Linked DNA regions of Homo sapiens: all the other regions are linked to region 1. The links are contacts of gene promoters, found by promoter capture Hi-C in human tissues and cell types (Jung and others, 2019). All regions are on one chromosome and are shown on one strand. Each heading gives the region's core, a stretch centred on a gene start or on the middle of the fragment in contact. The rest is flanking DNA. Distances are from core to core; before and after follow the strand shown. Region 1 holds the start of TTLL11 (tubulin tyrosine ligase like 11). Region 2 overlaps RABGAP1 (RAB GTPase activating protein 1). Region 3 overlaps RC3H2 (ring finger and CCCH-type domains 2).

Evidence for each region. Contacts are between HindIII fragments. The study calls those that stand out against the background at their distance.
Region 2: a fragment that was not itself captured here is called in contact with the fragment with the promoter of TTLL11 in region 1 in 1 of the 25 tissues and cell types used here (bladder).
Region 3: a fragment that was not itself captured here is called in contact with the fragment with the promoter of TTLL11 in region 1 in 1 of the 25 tissues and cell types used here (bladder).

Annotation. Positions count from the first base shown.
Region 1 is chr9:122,090,940-122,094,941 of GRCh38, forward strand. It overlaps TTLL11 (tubulin tyrosine ligase like 11), which reads right to left and starts at 2,369. Exons shown (of 9, transcript NM_001139442.2): 1 at 1,748-2,369. The coding sequence starts at 2,209. LOC124902263 (a long non-coding RNA gene) reads left to right here and starts at 3,193. Exons shown (of 2, transcript XR_007061757.1): 1 at 3,193-3,233. It overlaps LOC124902262 (a long non-coding RNA gene), which reads left to right. Exons shown (of 3, transcript XR_007061755.1): 3 at 98-340. RefSeq lists enhancers at 1,897-2,610, 2,360-2,549 and a silencer at 1,960-2,009. The HindIII fragment of the contact is 16,076 bases long and covers 1-4,002 here.
Region 2 is chr9:122,982,300-122,986,301 of GRCh38, forward strand. RABGAP1 (RAB GTPase activating protein 1) reads left to right here. Exons shown (of 26, transcript NM_012197.4): 3 at 2,186-2,420; 4 at 3,916-4,002. Among named protein-coding and RNA genes, the nearest start is that of RABGAP1, 43 kb to the left of the region's middle. The HindIII fragment of the contact is 4,839 bases long and covers 1-4,002 here.
Region 3 is chr9:122,888,615-122,892,616 of GRCh38, forward strand. RC3H2 (ring finger and CCCH-type domains 2) reads right to left here. Exons shown (of 21, transcript NM_001100588.3): 4 at 1,698-1,931. Among named protein-coding and RNA genes, the nearest start is that of SNORD90, 10 kb to the left of the region's middle. The HindIII fragment of the contact is 4,424 bases long and covers 1-4,002 here.

The DNA of each region.
Region 1 (4,002 bases), core at 1,119-3,618:
AATGACCGCAATTATTCCTTTACTTGTGTTTTATTCCCTATTGAACCATGAAGTCCTTGGGGGCAAGGGTCACATCTTAAGTATGTTTGGTTCCCAGGGCCCAGCAAAGAACTTGGCACCTCCAAAGTGGACATTTACGGAATGAGTGAACGAACCTGGGCTGGGATGTATTAGTCCATCTGGCCCCATCTCTCCGAGCAAACGAGATCTGGCCTGCTTTATGTCTCTCTCTCCCACAGGGATAAGCTAAGTGGAGGCCCCACTTGGGCCAATCTGCCTAGCCTGACTCCATAGCCTGGTTTTATTTGCTGGATTCTCCCTTCATTAAGACCACGGCACTGACAAGTTGTCCAGTTGTACCTTTTCTAGCCCTCATATCTCTGGCCTGGACCTGGGGCCCTGCCTAGAAACCCAGATACTTTAGAACTGAGAGCCTGCCTTTGTTTTCCCCAAGTTTCCCCAGCATGAAAGTTCCCCTCTGAATCCCAAGCCCCAAGGCTGGGGGCCCAGACACTTGGAGTCAAACTTCCCCAACGGCTACACCCTATCCACCTGGAAGTCGGTTCTGCCTGATCCTTGACTTCCCTCCAAACCAAATGCACTTTTTCCTATTGGGACATCAACCCTCTGACCACATCAGTCCTTTCTGTGGCCATCTCTCTGTATGTTCCAACTTAATGAAACCATTACCGAGCATCTACCATAGCCAAGGCACAGGGCTAAGAACCTGAGTCCTCTGTTACCCGCAGCAGATCCCTGTTACCACTGGCTGTGTCCACACTCAGCTATCCTTAATCAAACTCCTGACACTCCTGAAAGCACATTAAATACCTTATATGCTGCAAATAAAGTCAAATGGCTTTATCCACGTAGCCAATTGCAACAGACACCTCTAGAGTCACTGGTGCTACATTCCATCCCCTGCCAGTCTAAAATGGGCTCAGGGATGATAACTCATGTATTCATTCACCCTTTCATTCACTGCTTACTGACACATGCCGTAAGCCAAGCCTGGAATATAAAATACAGTGCCTGATTTTATACCACTGATCATGAGGACAGTGGTGGTGCTGGTGGTGGTGATGGTGATGATGGTGGAAGAAGAGAGAAAGGAGAAGGTGGTAACGTAAGTTACCATTTATTGCAGACTTGTGCTATAAAACACTAAGTAGTGAGTCTTCTAATGCTAACAAGATGATGAGATAAGTATAATTGGCCTCACTTTACAGAGAAGGTAATAGGCTGAAGAGGTGAAGCAACTTACTCAAGGTCACACAGCTAAGTAGCAAAGTGTAGTGAGACCCTAGGCCTGTCTGCCTCCAAAATAAAAAGTGTTCCTCTGCCCAAGAGTCACACAGCAAGTGCTAAACAAATATAACTTCAATGAAGAAGTGAGAGAGCGGGTCCGGGGCCCCAGGGGCTTACAAGCTGGTGGAGGAGACAGACGTACACATATCTACAAGCAGAGGCAAATGCTGATGGCTGAGACATAAAAAGAGCTGCAGGGAGGCAGAGGAGTGAGTGGCTAACTTGACCTGGAGGGGTCTGGGGGGCCCTCTTGGAGGAAGTGATTTTGGGGGGTAGGCCTTGAAGGATGAGCACTTTGCGGCTGACAAGCAGGCCCGAGCGTGGTGCACCGCAGGAGCTCAGCCCTCGCCCGCCGACCTGACCTGGGCCGTGCCGAGACCTCTGAGGTCGTCCTGTCCACCCCACTGTGCCCACGCGGCCGGGTCGGGCCGGGCCTCACCTCCTTCCACTTGAGCTGGCGGATGCTGATCTTCAGGGCATCCAGGGAGGTCCTGGCCTTGGAGCTGTCCACGGTGACCGGCCGCTGGGAGCCGTTCTCGCCGGAACCGTGGCCCGAGCTCCGCTTGCAGCTTCGGCCCTTGTCCCGGGGCTTCCCGTGCGGGCAGAGGCCCTGCACCGGCTTCGGCTTGGACGGGGGCAGCGTGGGCGGCGGCCGCTGAAGGACCTGGGTGTTCCCCTCCTCAGCCGCACTGGGCTGCGCCGGGGCCGGGGCCAGGACCTTGGGCTGCTCCTCCCCTGCCTTGCACTCCGGTTCCCCGGCCGCGCCCGCGTCCACGCGGACCTGTTCCGCCACCGTCTCCGCTGTGGCCTCGGCCTCAGCTTTGGCCGCCGCTTTGGCCGCAGCCACCGCCTCCGCCTCCCACCGGGCCGCCAGCTCGCTCTCGGAGCTGCCCCGCCGCATGGTGCTCAGGGCCGGGGCCAGTGCCAGTGCCACCGCCGCCGCCGCCGCCGCTCCGCCGCCCCAGTCCGCCACCAAACTGCCGCCGCTGCAGCCGCTGCCACGCGTTCCCCGCCCGAGCCCGTTGCCATGATCGCTCAGGCTCGGGTTGACAGCGGCAGTCACCGCATCGAGACGGGGTCCGGGAAGGGACAATCGCCGGCCGAGCCCCAGCGACCTCATAGGCGAGGCTGCCCACGTGACCCTGCCTGTCACAGAGGCAGCGGCGGCCATGTTGGAAGAGGGCAAAGAGCCGCCAGGACCCGCCCACCCCGCGGATGCGCTGGATCTCGAGGGCGCAGAACTCGGAGTGGCGAGGAGAAGCGGGAGGGCAGATTGAGCGCGCGTGGGGCTCGTGAGCCTGGGGACTGGGAGTAAAAACAACTACCTCAAGCAGGAGGCTCAGTCCCCGCCAACACTCGCTGGGATAACTCTCGATAGGACGGAGGAGGAGCCCCCCAGTGGGACCCTCCTCAGTGCAATGGATGGGACCCTCCTCAGTGCAATGGATGGGACCCTCCTCAGTGCGATGGATGTGAGCAGCCCAGGCCCTAGGGGAGCAGAGAGTGTTCCGCTGAAGAAACCCTCTGCTGGTCCTTTGAGCGCCCCCAGATAAGAGGGGAGGCACTTTTCCCTGTTCTCAGGGAGCTCCCGATGGGATGGGGAAGTCATGGGCATGGGTAAGCCCCCTATAGATTCCCACTCGAGTTGAGGATATTAACGATTTTTTCTTTTTCTTTTCTTTTTTTCTTTTTTTTTTTTTTTTTTAGACAGGGTCTCTCTCTGTCGCCCAGGCTGGAGTGCAGTGGCGCGATCCCGGCTCACTGCAGCAGCCTCAACTTCCAGAGCTCAAGGGATCCTCCCACCCCAACCTCCCGAGTAGCTGAGACTACACGAATGTACCACCACTCCCGGCTAAGTTTTGTGTTTCTCGTAGAAACGTGGTTTCGCCATGTTGCCGAGGCTGTTCTCAAACTCCTGACCTCAGGTAATCTGCCAGCCTCGGCCTCCCAAAGTACTAGGATTACAAGCAGAACCACCGCGTCTCTTGTTTTCTTTTTTGTTTTTGTTTTTGTTTTGTTGTTGTTGTTGATGTTGTTACAGAGTTTCGCTCTTGTCGCCCAGGCTGGGATGCAATGGTGTGATCTCGGCTCATTGCAGCCTCCGCCTCCCGGCTTCAAGCAATTCTCCTGCCTCAGCCTTGTGAGTAGCTGGGATTGCAGGAGCCGGCCACCATGCCCGGCTAATTTTTTGTATTTTTAGTATAGACGGGGTTTCACCATCTTGGCCAGGCTGGTCTCTAACTCCCGACCTCAGATGATCCACCCGCCTCAGCCTCCCAAAGTGCTGAGATTACAAGCGTGAGCCACCACGTCCAGCCTGACTGCTTTTACTTATATCACTTTTTTTGTTGTGGTAAAATATAACAAAATTTGCCATTTTAACCATTTTTAGTGTACAATTCAGTGGCATTCTGTATACTCACATTGTTGTGCAACCAGCACCACTATGGGTCTCCGGAACTCTTTTATCTTACCAAACTGAAACTTTGTGTCTATGAAACAATAAGTCGGGATTCCCTTCTCTCCTAGTCCCTGGGAACCACCATTTCTACTTTCTGACTATGAATTTGACTATTCCTGGTTCCTCATGTCAGTGGAATCATACAGTATTTGTCTGGCTTATTTCACGTAGCATAATGTCCTCAAGGTTTCTCCATGTTGTAGCATGAGTCCAAATTTCACTCATTTTTAAGA
Region 2 (4,002 bases), core at 510-3,009, 890 kb after region 1:
AGTAGGGAAGAATGCAAGATAAACGTGTAAACACAAGGCAAAGGTATAAACATGTTTTCTTTTAGGGTTAGCTACATTTCTGTGATTGGTAAGTATATTTCAACGTAGGCAGCCTATCCCAACAGAAAACTTAGGTTTACTTATGTGCCAAAGATCAAAACAGTACTTCACAGCATGTAATATGTCTTCCTTCAATTCCAGTTGCATTCCCAGTTGTAATTACTAATTGCTTCAACAGGGAATCTAATATCTTCTCTCATCTGTTTTTGGGAAGCTGTATAACTCTATTCCTATATGTTATTTCTCCCTACCCTTGGAAAAATTAGTTTAGGTTCACTTGGGCTGTCTTTTGCTTACTGCAGGTGATACAGTATTTCTTCTCCAGTTTTGAAAAGATAAGAGGCTAATTGAATCTAAGCTTTAGTTGGATTTTTAGGTGCTTTAAAAATTTTTTAAGCTGGGCGTGGTGGCACTGCCTGTAGTCACAGTTCCTGGGGAGGCTGATGAGGGAGGATCACTTGAGCCCAGGAGTTCAAGTCCACGCTGGGCAACATAGTGATATGATGTCACTTTTAAAAAAAAGTTTTTGAGACAGGGTTTTGCTCTATCACCCAGGCTGGAGTGCAGTGGCGTGATCTCGGGTCACTGCAGCCTCAACTTCTGGGCTCCAGCGATCCTCCCACCTCAGCCTCCCAGTAGCTGGGACCACAGGCACATGCTACCATGCACGGCTAATTTTTGTGTTTTTGGTAGAGATGGGGTTTCACTGTGTTGCCCAGGCTGGTCTCGAACTCCTGAGGTCAAGCAGTCTGTCCACCTCAGCCTCCCAAAGTGCTGGGATTATAGGCGTGAGCCACTGCGCCCAGCAAAAAAAAAAAAAACAAAAACTTTTTAAAGCAGAACTTCTAAAAAAAGAAATTCAGTTGCACTTGTGTATGTGTAGAATCTGATTTAACAAAGGGTTAAAATTACTCGGCCCACTTGTAATTCCATTAGCAGTAACTCCAAACATAAAATGAAATTCACAGAAACAGAAATTGTCATTGAAGCCAAGAAAGAGGTCTTTATTTCTAAGGCAAAAGTAGTTGAAGTGTTGGAATTTCCTTGGGAAAATGTCCGCAAAAAAGACTTGTCTTTTTCTCAATTATAATTTGCAGCACAAGAGACTTGAAGTTTATAGAATTATAAAAGCCTGAATCAATAAAAGTACTTGAATTGGATTTCTTGGTACCCCAGAGGTACCTACCTCTGTTATTGGAATATTGCTTCCTAGCATCTGTGTTAATTTTGCTAGGGTAGGCCTCATTCTCTTAGCCCTGCCCAATTTAACTTTTTGTTAGGTTTTAGTCTTCAGAAAGCCTCCTAAATCAGGGCTCCCTCTTTTTTCCCATGACTTCGTTTTTCTAACTCAATTCTTTTGTTAATTTTTTTAGTATTTCTTAAGCATTTAGTGACAATACTGCATTATGTCACTTGTGGTTTTCCTTGGCATTGGGCAGTCTCCACTGGATTTTGCACTTACTTGCTTCCTTGTTGAGGAACTAGTAATAACCCATCATGACTCCATAGAATTACTTGATATTATTGAAATAGAGTGCTTTTATTTCTCAGGACTATTTTGTACATTCATGTCAGCTTTACTCAAGTGTTTCAGAACTTTCAGAACCTGTTCATATCATGTAACTCTTCCTCAGAAATACAAGAGACTTGCATATGACTGGAGTGGTAAAATACCTGTGGAAATGTATTGCCTAATATGTATGTTTCTGTTGATACCTTTTGGAAGCAAGCACATTTTTCCCTTTTTCTTAAGGGCTAGAGGAGACACTAAGATGTTCTTCTTAAAAGCGTTATTTCTTATCAGACAAAATTATAGATCCTTTAATTATTGTTAGTTTAGGACACAGTAAAAGACTTTAATAACATTGGCAGGCTATCGCATATATTTCTGGGTATTAGTCTCAAGTTCACTATGTACTTTTTCATGAAAAACTATGTAATTGAGAGAGCAGCTGCACCCTTATTTGTTGCAGATCTTGATTTATTCTATTTTTAAAAAAAACATTCAGAAGATATCTTTGTATCAAAAGAAATGCTAATGATTTTCTTTAGAATGTGAACCCATTTTAATCAATACTGGCCAATCTTTGTCACTTTGCTGATTGCATGTATTTGTGACCCTTAGATTGTAGGGAATGGAAGTGAACAGCAGCTGCAAAAAGAGCTAGCAGATGTACTGATGGATCCTCCAATGGACGACCAGCCAGGGGAAAAGGAGCTTGTGAAAAGGTCACAACTGGATGGTGAAGGAGATGGGCCTCTTTCTAATCAGCTCTCCGCTTCATCCACCATTAACCCTGTGCCATTAGTAGGGCTCCAAAAACCAGAGATGAGCCTACCAGTGAAACCTGGACAAGGAGGTTAGGATTGCTGCATTGCTTGCGTAACTGAAGGTTATTGTTTTTAATATGTGAGTGTCCACCCTGTACTAGGTTTTATTTAGAACAGGCAAAACCATTGTCTACAAAAACAGGCAAAAACATTCTCTAGAATCTCTGAATTCTAAATCTAAGGGGATGTGAGAGGAGTAAAAATATATATACCATTCTGATTTCCTTTTAAATGTATTTCACTTGTACCAAGGAAAGAGAAAACATGGCTAAAGGACACAGAGGGAGTCTTTTTTTTTTTCCCCCCAGGAATGCTTAAAGATTTTTCAAATAAAGAAGGAATATGAGTACAATATTAGAGAAATGGAGGGATAATTCTGGGTGAACAGATGTTTGCTCCAGACCTATATAGCTCTATGGGAGCAGTTGCCAAGTTGAAAAAGGAAGACTAGAACATGGGACAGAAAGACATAGCATGGGAGGAGAAGGACAACTTAAAAGACTCATTTGGAAAAGCAGGTGCTAAAACTATAGATGTTATTGGGAAAGGAAAGCCAAAGGGATTAAGAGAACATAATGAAGTGGCTAAGATGATGAATTAGAGAAATAATTGTAACAGTGCAGCTCAGAAAGATGACAGTTAGGCCGGGCGCAGTGGCTCACGCCTGTGATCCCAGCACATTGGGAGGCCGAGGCAGGTGGATCACAAGGTCAGGAGATCGAGACCATCTGGCCAACATGGTGAAACCCTGTCTCTATTAAAATACAAAAAATTAGCCAGGCGTGGTGGCACGCACCTGTAGTCACAGCTACTTGGGAGGCTGAGGCAGCGGGAATTGCTTGAAACCAGGAGGTGGAGGTTGCAGTGAGCCGAGATTGTTCCACTGCACTTCAGCCTGGCGACAGAGCGAGACTCCGTCTCAAAAAAAAAAAAAAAAAAAAAGATGACAGTCAGAGATAGGAGTTTCAGAGTGAAGAAATACTAAATGTATATTCGACCTAAATGTAAATTACAAAGTCAAAACAAATTAGAAGAGGCAGAAAGGTGAATCAAATCTGAGTCTGATTGAGACCGACTCTAATAGCACTATATTTTGAGTATCCTTTGTCTGAAATGCTTGGGACCAGAAGTGTTTCAGATTTCAGATGTTTTTGGATTTTGGAATATGCATATAATTACCTGCTGAGCACCCCAAATCCAATAATTCAAAAACTGAAATGCCCCAAATAGTACTTCTTTTAAGTGTCATGTAGGTACTCAAAAGGTTTTGAAATTTGAAGCATTTCATGTTTCAGATTTTTGAATTTAGGATGCTCAACCTGTACCTAAAAATCTTGGTGTTTCTGACAGAGTTCTAGTGTGGGATTTCTGGTTTTCATGGGCATTTCTTTTAGGGTATGGCATATTGTCTCATTAATACTTAATTTTAGACCTTAAATGTTACTTGCAGATTTTTACTTGCTAATCGTATCAACAAAATATCAAAGTGAAAGTAATCACTTCCTTATTCATTGTTTCTTTCAGATTCTGAAGCTTCAAGTCCTTTCACACCAGTGGCCGATGAGGACAGCGTAGTTTTCAGTAAACTGACTTACTTAGGCTGTGCCTCGG
Region 3 (4,002 bases), core at 918-3,417, 800 kb after region 1:
CCAACGTATCTGGAGGTCACACCCTAGCAGAATATATACTTCTTCCTCATTTCTTTCGACAGCTGCATAGTACTACACTGGAAGGATATACCACAGTTTATTATACTAGTACCTTATTACGCATAGGCATTCAGGTTGTTTCCAGATGTTTGCTATTACAAATAGTGCTTTTATAACTGTATGCATTCTGTACCTTCTGTTGTCTCTTTGGGATAGATTCCTAGAAGTGGGATTGCTAGACCAAAGGGTAAACACAGAGGTAATATTTTCAGATGTTGCCAAATTCCTTTCTTTAAAAGTCTGTACCACTTTGCATGCCCATGACTACTGGATGAGAGTACCTCACACCCTTGCCAACAGAATATATTTTCAGACTTTAAGATTCTGCCAATCTGATAGGTGAGAAATGGTATTTCTTGCATCTTTTGTCAATTTTTCAGTTGGTTGTTGGTCTTTTTCTTCTGAATTTTTAGACATACCTTATATATTAGTTATATTAGTCCTCTGTGTATGTTTGTTACGTAATTTATAAATATTTTCCCCAGTTGGTCTTCTTTTTCATTTGCTTATAATTTTTTTGTGATGTAAATTAAACACAAAATTATATAGTCAAATATCAGTTTCTTCCCTTATTGTTTCTAGATTTTGAGTTAAAGTTAGAAAAATGTTCCCTACTCACAGGTTATAAAGAAATATATTCTTTTATTGGTTTTTATTACCAGTATATTTTTATTTTTAATAAGGATTTCTGACGTTTGTAATTTATATAGTTTATAGAGAATAAGAAATGCATCTAATTTTGCTTTTTCCGCATTTTGATCTAGTTGTCCCAACATCACTTATTAAAAGTTTCCTTTCCAAAAATAAATTCTACCCGAACTGTAGTTCTAAATCACAAAGTTCAAACAATAAACCTTCAAGAAGAAAACACAGGAGGGAACTTCATTACCTTGGTATAGGTGAAGATTTTTTAAGACAGAACATAGATAACACTAATCATAAATAATTATCCCCTAAAAACGATCAAGAGTTTAAACATTTTTTTTCAGACCAAAAAAAAAGCTTACCTTTCTTTGGCTTATTACGTGTTCAATCTTAGGCCTCTAACTTGGTTTTCTAATTTGTAAAACTGTAGCTATATTGCCTATCTTGATGGCAATTGAAGCTTAAATGAGAAATTTTGTTTTAAAACACAAAAGCACTGTCTATCATATAAATTAAGATTAATAAAAACGGATTTATATTGGCTGGGTGCAGTGGCTCACGCCTGTAATCCTAGAACTTTGGGAGGCTGGGGCAGGCAGATCACCTGAGGTCAGGAGTTCCAGACCAGTCTGGCCAACATGGTGGAACCCTGTCTGTACAAAAAATAGAAAAATTAGCCGGGTATGATGGCGTGTGCCTGTAGTCCCAGCTACTTAGGGGGCTGAGTCAGGAGAATTGCTTGAGCATGGATGTCGAGGCTGCAGTGAGCCAAGACTGCGCCACTGCACTCCAGCCTGGGTGACAGAGTGAGACCCTGTCTCAAACAAAACAAAACAGCAATAACAACAACAACAAAAACAAATTTATCTTTAATTATATCAAGATTTGTACATATAAAGACGGGTTGAGTCTCAGGATTCACCGAGCTCCAGAAATTGGCATCCTCAAGCCCCAATAGCTAATAAAAAAGGTAAGATAGTAACCTATCTTACCTGGCCCTAAAAACTGGCATCCTCGAGCCCTGACAGCGGCCCATAGATTGGCAGACAACTGCTGAGGGTTCTGGTGCTGTAATATCAGTTCTGTTACAGTTCTTTCTCCAAGGGAACGAGCTGCTCGCATGGCTCTTACACGACCTTCTTCCTCCACCAGTTGACAGTTTACAAGTGTCACCAGTTTCCTTTGCATTGGACGGCTCAGTGCACTCTGGTTCAAGCTAGCTACACCTTTAGGAAAAGGGAAACAAAGGGAGCTAAAGTTTTTTCAATAAAAAATAAAAGTCAATTTTCATTATCTGCATTTAACGATTAAGCCACAATTCCTAATGAGTCCCTTGTAATGTGCTTTCATTTTTCTAACAGTATTCTGTCTCTGTTTGTTATTATTCTATAGTAATAAGAAGCCTAATTTTTAGCTACTTTAGCAGTTTAACCTAAAAGTAAAAATGACTCTATTTTTTAATTGTATATAAGACATTTAGAATACTGCTTAATGGTAAGCTCTTAGATTCTACTCCTATGTACCTATGTAAGAATATTGCTCCAGCAATTCTCCCCTCTCCCACATTATCAAATTTTCCCTCTTTACTTGAACATTTCCATCATTACAGAATAAGAACAAGTATGCTGTTATTTCATCCATCTAAAATACAAATATTTTCATTGATCCTGCTTCCCCTACCAAATCTGCCCCATTTTTTTTTTTTTTTTTTTTTTTTGGAGACAGAGTCTCACTCTGTCGCCCAGGCTGGAGTGCAGTGGCACAATCTCAGCTCACTGCAACCTCTGCCTCCCAGATTCAAGCAATTCTCCTGCCTCAGCCTCCCGAGTAGCTGGGATTACAGGTGAGTGTCACCACACCTGGCTAATTTTTTTTGTATTTTTAGTAGAGATGGGGTTTTACCATGTTGGCCAGGGTGGTCTCAAATTCCTGACCCCAAATGATCTGCCCGCCTCGGCCTCTCAAAGTGCTGGAATTACAGGCGTGAGCCTCTGTGCCCAGCCTCTGTTCCATTTCTTTCTTCTCTTATGCAGCAAATTTTCTAGAGTTGTCTATACTCGCTATTTCCTAGTCTAGTGCCTTAACTACTTAGCCAATTGTAGATCACTACAATTGATCTGTTCACTACTTCCAATTCCTTGTTTCACAATCTCTGAAACCCACCCCAATCAAATTTTTCCCACATCACTTGACCAAACTTGCTAAATTGGTTAAATTAGTTAATTCTTAGTTCCTTATTTTATCTGACCTTCCAACAGCATTCAACACACATGATTACTCATTACTCCTTTAAAACACATTATTTGGCTTACTAATGTATCCCAGCACTAGAAGAATGCCTGACACTCTCAGTCCACGCTCTTTAGATAGCTGTTCAATAAATGAATGAATGAATACAGGGGATAAGTTTCTCAGTAAAATCACTATGGCCACATACACAACAGTGCAAAGCATTCAACAGGTACAAAATACTCAATATATTCAATCATTCAACAATTGTTTATTATACCTATGATGTGCTAAGTATGCAGTGATAAAATTTCAGTTTTGTCATAGACTTAAAATAATTTATTACACTTGTACATCTATCTCCCCCAGTAAACTGTGGGCTCCATGATGGCAGTGACCTTAATCACTGTTAAGTGCTCAATAAAATTTAATGAATGACTGAATGAATACATGCATACATGAAGCTGTCTTAATAGGACTTATCAAAACTAATATTCTGTTACAGCACTATTACACAGTGAATTCAAATAATGTACAAATTTCAAGATGCAGTGACTCTGGTAAATTTTTTTTTTTTTTTTGAGACAAGGTCTCACTCCCATTGCCCAGGTTGAGTGCAGTGGCACGATCACAGCTCACTGCAGCCTCAACTTCCTGGGCTCATGTGATTCTCCTACACCGGTCTCCTCAGTAGCTGGGACTACAGGCGTGTGTCACCATGCCCAGCTAATTTTTTGTATTTTTAGTAGAGATGGGCTTTCGCCTTGTTGCCCAGGCTGGTCTCAAACTCCTGGGCTCAAGAAATCTACCCACCTTAGCCTTATAAAGTGCTCAGATTACAGGCATGAAGCCACCACACCCAGCTTGAATTCTTTTTTTTTTGAGACAGTCTTGCTCTGTCGCCCCAGGCTGGAGTGCAGTGGCACCATCTCGGCTCACTGCAAGCTCTGCCTCCCGGGTTCACGCCATTCTCCTGCCTCAGCCTCCGGAATAGCTGGAACTACAGGTGCCTGCCAAGACGCCCGGCTAATTTTTTGTATTTTTAGTAGAGACGGGGTTTCACCGTGT